Linked DNA regions of Homo sapiens: all the other regions are linked to region 2. The links are contacts of gene promoters, found by promoter capture Hi-C in blood cells and fetal thymus (Javierre and others, 2016). All regions are on one chromosome and are shown on one strand. The core of a region is centred on a gene start or on the middle of the fragment in contact, and the rest is flanking DNA. Distances in the headings are between cores, read along the strand shown. Region 1 overlaps C12orf56 (chromosome 12 open reading frame 56). Region 2 holds the start of C12orf56 (chromosome 12 open reading frame 56). Region 3 overlaps C12orf56 (chromosome 12 open reading frame 56).

What was found. Contacts are between HindIII fragments. The CHiCAGO score rates a contact against its expected background, and 5 or more counts as called.
Region 1: a fragment that was not itself captured here is called in contact with the fragment with the promoter of C12orf56 in region 2 in 5 of 17 cell types (activated CD4 T cells, non-activated CD4 T cells, naive CD4 T cells and 2 more); the score reaches 11.6 in activated CD4 T cells.
Region 3: a contact is called between a fragment that was not itself captured here and the fragment with the promoter of C12orf56 in region 2, in 3 of 17 cell types (activated CD4 T cells, non-activated CD4 T cells and naive CD4 T cells). The highest score is 7.1, in activated CD4 T cells.

What each region holds. Positions count from the first base shown.
Region 1 is chr12:64,278,203-64,281,875 of GRCh38, reverse strand. All of the region lies in intron 8 of C12orf56 (chromosome 12 open reading frame 56), which reads left to right. Among named protein-coding and RNA genes, the nearest start is that of KICS2, 58 kb to the right of the region's middle. The HindIII fragment of the contact is 8,258 bases long and covers 1-3,673 here.
Region 2 is chr12:64,389,048-64,392,643 of GRCh38, reverse strand. It overlaps C12orf56 (chromosome 12 open reading frame 56), which reads left to right and starts at 1,886. Exons shown (of 13, transcript NM_001170633.2): 1 at 1,886-2,330. The coding sequence starts at 2,079. The HindIII fragment of the contact is 6,871 bases long and covers 1-3,596 here.
Region 3 is chr12:64,297,344-64,300,972 of GRCh38, reverse strand. All of the region lies in intron 6 of C12orf56 (chromosome 12 open reading frame 56), which reads left to right. Among named protein-coding and RNA genes, the nearest start is that of KICS2, 77 kb to the right of the region's middle. The HindIII fragment of the contact is 156 bases long and covers 1,323-1,478 here.

The DNA of each region.
Region 1 (3,673 bases), core at 1,136-3,635, 110 kb after region 2:
AGTATTGTTTTTATGGGGTTTTCTTTGTTCTTTTTCTTTAAAAGCGTTGCCTTTAATTGTTTTGTTTTAACTTGGTTTGATCACATCAGCCGTCCTATATCAAGCCTCTTTCCTGATATTACCAATTCTTTTCATGTCCTTCAATACATATATTACATTGCTATAGTAGAGTCTGGTTGTAATATTAACTTTTCTCAGCCAGTTTTTATATCCCTAGGGTCAAATCATGTGCCCCATAGTATTACGTAGCCCAGTAAATATCTAATAAAACTGTATTCGTTTTCTTTTTTCTTTTATTTTTTTTGAGATGGAGTCTCACTCTGTCACCCAGGCTGGAGTGCAATGGCATGATCTCGGCTCACTGCAACCTCTACCTCCATGGTTCAAGCAATTCCCCTGCCTCAGCCTCTCAAGTAGCTGGGGATACAGGTGTGTGCCACCACGCTCGGCTGATTTTTTTTATGTTTTTAGTTAAGACGGTTTCACCATGTTGGCCAGACTGGTCTCGAACTCCTGACCTCAGGCAATCCACCCGCCTCGGCCTCCCAAAGTGCTAGGATTATAGGCATGAGCCACCGCACCCGGGCTCTTTTTTCTTTTTTTGAGACAGAGTTTTGCTCTGTCGCCAGGGCTGGAGTGCAATGGTGCGATCTTGGCTGACTGTAATCTCCGCCCCCTGGGTTCAAGCAATTCTTGTGCCTCAGCCTCCTGAATAGCTGGGATTACAGGCATGCACCACCACACCCTGCTAATTTTGTATTTTTAGTAGAGACGGGGTTTCACCATGTTAGTCAGGCTGGTCTTGAACTCCTGTCCTCAGGTGATCCACCCCCCGTCGGCCTCCCAAAGTGCTGGGATTACAAGTATGAGCCACCGTGCCCAGCCAAAATTGTATTAGTTTTCTATTGCCATATAACAAATTATCACAAACTTAGTGGCTTAAAACAACATGTATTTCTTATCTCACAGTGTCAGTGGATCAGAAATCTGGGCACAGCTTAACTGGATCCTTTGCCCAGGGTCTCACGAGGTTTCAGTTGAGGTGTTGGCCAGGCCATAGTCTCATCTGAGGCTTGGGACTCTTCCTAGCTCATTTGGGTGATTGCTGGCAGACTAAATTTCCTTACAGCTGTGGGACTCAGGTGGCTTGTTTCTTTGCAGGAGAGTATCTCTTTTTCGGGGCTCACCTGATTAGAGCAAGCCTACTCTGGATAATCTTCTTTTGATTAACTCAACAGTCAGCCAATTAGGGCCTTTATTATATTCTCAGAATCCCTTCATCTTTCCCATTTCATGTAACATAATCACAAGAGTGACAGACAAACATATTCAGAGCTATTGCCCATACTTAAGGGGAAGGAATTTGATAGGGTTTGTACCAGCAGGCTGGGAATTTTGGAAGCCACGTTAGATTTCTGCCCACCACAATAACATGGACTGACTTAGGAGACTATCGATGTGGCCTTCAAAGTCTGTATTTTTAAAGATATTGTAGTACATTCAAAATTCATACATTAGAAATAATAACAACCTAAACAATAAAGTATTAAACTGTTGGGACTGTTTTTAAGGCTGTGATGTCAATCCTCTAAGTTATCTCTATTTTCAGGATGAAACTACCATTTTGATTAAAATTTCTTCTATCTATTATTGTCCTAGTGGATTTTAAATTGAATTAGCAGAAGGGGTGGATTTCAAATTAAATTCCATTTGGGTAAATAAAAAAGCGGTTAATCATTTCAGCATTTTCCTCTTTATTGTTTTCATGAGTGGAGATTTCATTAGTTCAACATACTTTGCTGTAACTTTCTTGAAATGTGCCATATTTTTTCATATCCTAGTATTGTTAGGGTTGAATTCATATGTTATCATAGCAAGTGACCCATAATTTGAGAGTTCTTTTTCTTTGCTTTGGATGTATGATACTTTGAAAATAAGCTGTTACTGAAAATAAAGGACTATAATTAAATATAACAGTGAATGGAATGCCAGTTCAAACAATATCAAGAAACACTTCTAAAGGGAGTGTTCTGTTGATTTTAAAAGGGTCTTCTCAAAGTAAGATTGGCCATTTTAAATAGCCTGAATAAAACATTATTAAATACCCTGTAGGGTATATCCTGCTTTTGTGAGAAATGTACTAACTGACATGATTCTTCTTTCCAAATATAAGAACTAGACTTGCTTTTTGACTTGGAGAAAGGAAGAGCATTGTATTTTTACTAGAGTGTAGGTTAATCATGAGCTTCTAATCATGGTGATGATTTAAATGATTCTAAGAAGATTAGAAAGCCTCAGATCCTACTAAACAAGGGTATTTATACTCACCCTCCTTTTTTCCATTATGAAAGGAATGCTTATGGTTATGGAGAACTTTTGTATAGTACTATCTTTGAATTATTTTACTACTCCTACCCCTCAAATCTACTCTGACATTGTCTTCAATTAGGCAACTGAGTTTTTAGCAGTCTGCCTTCAGCTGCTTTTCAACCATACAGGGGTTATACTACCCAATAGGAGGAGATAGCGTTATTAACCCAGCTCATCAGGATGCACATGTAACATTTAAGTGAGTTATCAATGGACGGTACCCCACATTGGAAAGTAAAATAACTGAGGTTTTTTGGGATCAAATAAGCATTTTACAAAATGGTGGAGTTGGGTGTGGAGGCTCATGCCTGTCATCCAAGCACTTTGAGAGGCTGAGGTGGGCAGATTGCTTTAGGCCAGGGGTTCAAGTCCAGCCTGGGCAACAAAGCAAGACCCCATCTTTATGTTTAAAAATTTTTATATTTAAAAAAAAGAAATGCTGTACATTATTAACAGAAACCAAGAAAAGGAAGCAAACTTACTGTCCAGCAATGGGTGAATGGATAAAGAAAATGTGGTACATATACACAATGGAATATTATTCAGCCATAAAAATGAAGTCTTGTTATTTGTGACAACATGGATGAAACTGGAGGATATTAGGCTAAGTGAAATAAGCCAGGCACAGAAAGACAAATACGAGTTTGACTTTTGAGTTCATGCATGATCTCACTTATATATGGAATCTAAAAAAGCCAAACTCATAAAAACAGAGAGTGTAGAATGGTGGTTGTCAGAGGCTTAGGGGCGGGGTGGAATTGGGAGATGTTGGTCAAAGGGTACAAAACTTCAGTTAGACAGGAGGAAGAAGTTCCAGAGATCAATCATACAAATATGGTGACCATAGTTAATAGCAATGTCCTGTATACTTGAAAATTGCTGACAATAGATTTTGTGTTCTCACTATATAAAAATAAGCATGTGAGGTGATGCATACGTCAATTCGCTTGATTTATAAAATATGTACACATTCTACAGTATATACATATTTCAAAACATCATGTTGTATACCATAAATATATACAATTTTTATTATCAATTAAAAAAAGTAAAAACTGAAAGTGGTCGCTCAAGCCTGTAATCTCAGCTACTTGGCTGAGGCAGGGGATCACTTGAGTCCAGTAGTTCAAGACCAGCCCGGGCAACATCATGAGATCCTGTGCCAAAAATAACCCAAGCAAACAAACCTAAAAAAAGAAAAAAGAAGAGCTGCATACTGTTGCTTTGTCCCAGAGATACACTGTGCATATTAGCATATAAAGCCTCTGAGAAGTCCTGTAGTAAACACATCTGATGAACTTGG
Region 2 (3,596 bases), core at 637-3,136:
AGCAACAAACTCTATTTAGAGTGGTTTAGATAATGAGTAGTCTTTATTTTGGAGGAAATAGCCATGCGGCATCTTTTATCAATAAAGGTTGCTACGGATGGTGTAGTTCATTCATTTTTCATCCATTTATGAAGTTAGGAAGGCTCAGATGTGTGATGAGATCCTAAGAAAACTTTAACTACTAGGTCATTTAAGATTTTGCCAGCAGGTGGCACTTCTCTTTACTCACTTGAGTTCCTTAACATGATCTTAGACTTAAGTCTAGCCAGACCCTTACATGGCGGTGGTTCATGCCTGTATTCCCAGCACTTTGGGAGGTCAAGGCAGGCAGATCAGTTGAAGTCAGGAGACAAGCCATGGCCAAGATGGTGAAATCCTGTCTCTACTAAAAATACACACAGAAAAAAAATTAGCCAGGCATGGTGGTGTACACCTGTAGTCCAAGCTACTTGGGAGGCTGTGGCAGGAGAATGGCTTGAACCCAGGAGGCAGAGGCTGCAGTGAGCCGATATCATGCCACTGCACTCCAGCCTGGGTGACAGAGGGAGACTCTGTCTCAAAAAAAAAAAAAAAAAAAAAGTTTAGCCAGACCAAAACATTTCTCTTTCCCTTTGTACTAGTGTAGTCTACAATATCTGTTTATGGATTGTAATATATTTATACCTTCTTTCCACAAGGGATTTGAAGTTGCTTATAACATACAGTATACAATAATAAAATATGTAGAAAGGGAGAATATAAAGAATATATCAAATTTGATTCAGGGTTGCTGGCAGCCACAGCAATGAACGATATGGTTTCATTATCAGGTTTTTGGGTCAATGGGGAGGGGAAGAGAATAACTTTTCTAGGATTCGAAATAAAAAATGGAACTTCTGACTTAGAGCATTTCTGTTGTGCCCTTCTCATTTCTCTAACCTAATTAGTAAGTTATTCTTGGCCTGTAAAAACTAAGGAATACTTACTCCTCTGCAGCCTCAGGGTATGTAATCCGCATTCTTCAGTCTATCAGCTTCAACTTTTCAAGATGCCAGCATCACCCATTCATTCTTCCTGCATAGATTGTCCTGGGCATTGGAAACAAAACCATATGCCTTAGGTTGGTTTGGGTGTGCTCACATCAATTCATGTGAAGAATCCCTTTCTCAAAGGCTGGGCGAGGTGACTTAACGCCTGTAATCCCAGCACTTTGGGAGGCCGAGGCGGGCGGATTACCTGAGGTCGGGAGTTGGAGATCAGCTTGACCAACATGGAGAAACCCCGTTTTTACTAAAATATACAAAATTAGCTGGGCGTGGTGGCGCATGCCTGTAATTCCAGCTACTCAGGAGGCTGAGGTAGGAGAATCGCTTGAACCCGGGAGGGGGAGGTTGCGGTGAGCCGAGATGGCGCCATTGCACTCCAGCCTGGGCAACAAGAGCAAAGCTGCGTCTCAAAAAAAAAAAGAGAAAAGAAAAAAAAAATCCCTTTCTCACTGGTTGGAGAAAGAAGACCTATGTTTACACTCCGACAATATCAGAAAGCTGTGCCAGGCCATGTTATAACCAAAAGCTAAATCTGTGTGATTGGGTTTAATAGGTTTCTAGGGTTGTTAAAAATAAATCGGTAAATTAAACTCTTTCAAGTTTCTAACAGGAAACCAGATTGAAGCTGGCTTCCATTACCAATAAAGTTTGTATTGGATGGTGTGATCCGCAACAGAGTACGCAGTGGTGGGGACTGGCATTAGGGGTGGGCGGGAGAGACCCTAAAAATCCACCGCCCTTCGGCCGCAGGGGACTTCACGGTGATGAGCCCGAGGTGCCCATCAACTCGGGCCTGAAGGACCAGCGTCTTGCCCCGCCCATCGCCGTCTGAGGTTAGGACAAAGATCGAGAGGCTGGACAGGGCTGGGGAGGGCGCTCCAGGGAAGCCGACCTAGCGTCGATTCCTGCAGTTGCGGCCCGGGTCCCCGCGCCTGGAGAGGAGGCGACGCGTGGCCGGCGGCTTTGTGGCGCGCGGGTTCCAGCGCGGGGGCGGGGAGAGGGCGAGCTGAGGGCCTCGAGTCCCAGCACTCCGCCACGCTGCGGGCGCCGGGCATGGCCAGCCCCTTGCCGTCCGGCTTCCCCGCGCGCAGGAACAGCCGCCTGGATGTGTTCCTGCGGCGGCATCTGCCGCCCGAGGTCTACGACGCGGTCCGCGCCTACGAGCCATGCATCGTGGTGTCCAACTCTGAGAACCACATCCTCAAGTATGTGGTGCTAAGCGACCGGCTCGTCTACCTAACCGAGAACCCGCCCAAGTCCATCCGGCGGGTAGTGGCTCTGCGGGACGTCGTGGCCATTGACCTGGTGAGCGGCGCGGGTGGGCAGGCGGGCTCGGGAGCGCAGTGAGAACTCCCGGCTGGGGCCCCCAAACCCAGCCCTCCTGCGCGGGGAGGGCTGCCCCATCCTGCCCTCGACTCCCCTCCTCTTATTTGAGAACGAGGAACACAGGGAAGCTGTGGATTGCTGTGAGCACTCCTAATACAAACACGTCTCCCATTCTCCTCGTGTCTGCCTGTTCACCCATTCTCCCGCCTCCCCTACCCCACGTAGGGCTACAGGTTTGAGAACCGAGCTCCCTATCAAAAATACCTTTTAAAGTCATTCCTTTGTTAACAAAGCACCTAGTCAGTGCCAGGCACTGTGCTAGACTCGGAGGATGCAAAAACGAAAGAGGGCCCCTACCTAGAAGCAGTCGCTGGAGGGCTAGAAAGCCAACACCCGTGCAAATAAATGCTGTGTGTTAAGTGCTGTTATATCTCATTTACTTTTTTGCCCCCGATGCTTAGAGCATGTTAGATGCTCAATAAGAATAAATGCATAAGGCCGGGTGCCGTGGATCACGCCTATAATCCTTACACTTTGGGAGGCCAAGGTGGATAGATCACCGGGGGTCAGGGGTTCGAGACCAGGCTGGCCAACATGGTGAAACGCCGTCTCCACCAAAAGTACAAAAATTACCCAGGCGTGGTCGTGTGCACCTGTAATCCCAACTACTTGGGAGGCTGAGGCACAAGAATCGCTTGAACCTGGGAGGCGGAGGTTGCCGTGAGCCGAGATCGCCCCACCTGCACTCCAGCCTGAGCTACAGAATGAGTGAGACACCGTTCCCCTCCACCCCCTCCCCAGCAAAAGAATAAATGCATGAATAAGCAGATGCGTTAATGAGATGCGCACAGGACGCTTGGCAATCTCAGGCGGCTCACTTGATCCAAACTGGGCGCAGGGCCTGCTGGGAAACGTCTTGGAAGGAGGGGCGTCGACGCTAGGAGCTGGGCTTGAAAGACGTCGGGCCTGCCACAGCCTGTCGCCGGTTTTCGGGTGCTGTTCCTGTACCCCTTTCGTCCAGGAATAGATTTACCTTGTAAACCAGCAACAGACTGGAAGCACGGTCTCCTCTCCAATTACTGTTTTCCCCGCCTGGCTCCCTTTGTCTGAGCTGCTCTCCAGGTGTGTTCTTGGTTTTTCCGTTGGGGACAGGTGTCTAGCCTCGTTTTTTCATTCCCTTGACTGAGCCCCAAGGGAGAGGTTGGCGAGACGCTTGATGGAGCTGTTTTGCTGAGGAGTCATGGC
Region 3 (3,629 bases), core at 151-2,650, 91 kb after region 2:
CACCATCGTGAAAACAGCATGCATGATCCAATCACCTCCCACCAGGACCCTCCCTCGACAGTGGGGATTACAATTCAAGATGAGATTTGGGTGGGAACACAGAACCAGAACATATCAGGCTACCATCTGGATAAGGTGGGCACTGGGAAAATGAATCCAGATGTAGATGCTCATGGAAAAGGCACAGTGCCCAAAGGTGAGAGTGATCTCTACATAAGAGTGAGCAAAATGAAATATCAGGATATTTTAGCATGTGGGTGAATTACAACTGGATGTCTGCACAAACATTTGGCACCAGGAAGATCTGCTTGTTTAGGGTGTGGGAACAGGGTTTTATGGAATGTGAGGACATAAAGATTGTCAAGAGTAAAGCCAGCAGTTAGGAGAGGACTGGGAAAGGACTTAGGACAGTGCTCAAAGGGGAAGTCCACCCAGATACACTGGACACAATCAGGGACTGGATTTAAAGTGCATGTCTAGGTAGGAGAACTGAAGTACCACTTAAGGGTTAGATTAAGAAGGATGTTGATGTGTATTCCTAATGGGATCAGCACCAGTGTTAGTCTGGAGGTCATTTAAGCATCTTCAGTTTAAAAACAGGCCTGATACCTGTGGCCTAGGCTGTGGAACAAAAAAAGAATGGAGAGAAAGAGAGTAAGGTTAGGATTCACAGACCTGACCCGCCACTTCATCTTCTCTCTCACCTCTGTCCTCTACAAGATCGAGCCATGTAGGATAACTTGGATACTTGTTCTCCTTAGCTCTCCTTTCTCCCTGCTGCTTGCTTTCTCTAGAATACTCTTCTTCTAATTTCTCTTGTTAAAAATCATACCCATTCATCAAGGCTCAGCTCAAATGCCATTTTCTGCCTTTCCTGTCATGCCTAATGGGGAACTTTAGTACCTTCCTCCTTTTGATCTTCTCTGTCAATTCCATGCCATAGAACTTTCTTTGAAGTTTTATAATCTGCATTGTTCAATACAGCAGACACTAGCCACATGTGGCTATTAAGCACTTGAATGTGACTAGTGACTAAAAAAGTAAAACGTTAATTTTATTAAATTTACATTAATTTAAATAGACACTTGTGGGCAGTAGCTACCGAGTTGAACAATGTAGTTCTATGACATCTTTCATAGCACTTCCTCTTTAACAATTAACAGACAGTTTTCATGCCTAATCTGTGTGAGGCTTGGTGATAGGTATTAGAAATATAGCATGATTATGATACAGTTTCTACCATCGAGAATTAGCACAGATATCCTCCCTTTTACTATAGTGATTGGCACATTTTTCTTATTTATCTTAATATGCTAAAAGCTTCTTTAGGACAAGTATATGTCTTACTTATCTTTGTATTCTCCCTCAGGCCAAAACACAATGCATGCATATTCCAGGTGCTGTAAGTTATTCATACTGAATTGCAAATCTGTTCTCTTGTGAAATATTAACCTAATCCAATGTCTAAAAATGAAGCTTTCATGATCTGTTTTATACTTGAAAACACTGCAGCCATTATTTAATATAATATTCTTACCTGGGCTAAAACAAATCTTCTAATTCAGTTATCAAAAATGAAAGGCCAAAGTGAATGGAGAAGGAAATAATTCAGATAGGAAAAGGGGAAGTCAAATTGTCTCTGTTCACAGATGACATGATTGTATATTTAGAAAACCTCACCGTCTCAGCCCAAATCTCCTTAAGCTTATCAAAGCAACTTCAGCAAAGTCTCAGGATACGAAATCAATGCACAAAAATCACAAGCATTCCTATACACCAATAACAGACAAACAGAGAGCCAAATCATGAGTGAACTCCCATTCACAATTGCTACTAAGAGAATAAAATACCTAGGAATACAACTTACAAGGAATGTGAAGGACCTCTTCAAGGAGAACTACAAACCACTGCTCAAGGAAATAAGGGAGGACACAAACAAATGGAAAAACATTTCATGCTCATGGATAGGAAGAATCAATATCGTGAAAATGGCCATAACTGCCCAAAGTAATTTATAGATTCAATGCTATCCCCATCAAGCTACCTATTGACTTTCTCCACAGAATTGGAAAGAACTGCTTTAAAGTTCATATGGAACCAAAAAAGAGCCCGCATAGCCAAGACAATCCTAAGCATAAAGAACAAAGCTGGAGGCATCACACTACCTGACTTCAAACTATACTACAAGGCTACAGTAACCAAAAGAGCATGGTACTGGTACCAAAACAGACATATAGACCAATGGAACAGAACAGAGCCCTCAGAAATAACACCACACATCTACAACCATCTGATCTTTGACAAACCTGACACAAACAAGCAATGGGGAAAGGATTCCCTATTTAATAAATGGTGCTGGGAAAACTGGCTAGCCATATGCAGAAAACTGAAACTGGACCCCTTCCTTACACCTTATACAAAAATTAACTCAAGGTGGATTAAAGACTTAAACATAAGACCTAAAACCATAAAAGTCCTAGAAGAAAACCTAGGCAATACCATTCAGGACACAGGCATGGGCAAAGACTTCATATCTAAAACATCAAAAGCAATGGCAACAAAAGCCAAAATTGACAAATGGGATCTAATTAAACTAAAGAGCTTCTGCACAGCAAAAGAAACTATCATCAGAGTGAACAGACAACCTACAGAACGAGAGAAAATTTTTGCAATCTATCCATCTGACAAAGGGCTAATATCCAGAATCTACAAAGGACGTAAACAAATTTACAAGCAAAAAACAACCCCATCAAAAAGTGGGCAAAGGATATGAACAGACACTTCTCAAAAGAAGACATTTATGCAGCCAACAAACATGAAAAAAAGCTCATCATCACTGGTCATTAGAGAAATGCAAATCAAAACCACAATGAGATACCATCTCATGCCAGTTAGAATGGTGATCATTAAAAAGTCAGGAAACAACAGATGCTGGAGAGGATGTGGAGAAATAGGAATGCTTTTACACTGTTGGTGGGAGTGTAAATTAGTTCAACCATTGTGGAAGGCAGTGTGGCGATTCCACAAGGACCTAGAACTAGAAATACCATTTAACTCAGCAATCCCATTAGTGGGTATATACCCAAAGGATTATAAATCACGTTGCTATAAAGACACATGCACATGTATGTTTATTGCAGCACTATTCACAATAGCAAAGACTTGGAACCAACCCAAATGTCCATCAGTGATAGACTGGATTAAGAAAATGTGGCACATATACACCATGGAATACTATGCAGCCATAAAAAGATGAGTTCATGTCCTTTGCAGGGACATGGATGAAGCTGGAAACCATCATTCTCAGCAAACTAACACAAGAACAGAAAACCAAACATGTTCTGCATGTTCTCATTCATAAGTGGGAGTTGAACAATGAGAACACATGGACACAGGGAGGGGAACATCACACATTGGGGCCTGTCGGCGGACGGGGGAATAGGGGAGGGATAGCATTAAAAGAAATACCTAATGTGGCTGACGGGTTGATGGGTGCAGCAAACCACCATGGCATGTGTATAACAAAACTGCACATTCTGCACATGTACCCCAGAAATTAAAGTATAATAAAAAAAAGAAAAAAAAGTAAATGGGTAGTCTCTCTATTTGTGGTCTCTCTACACTTCAGT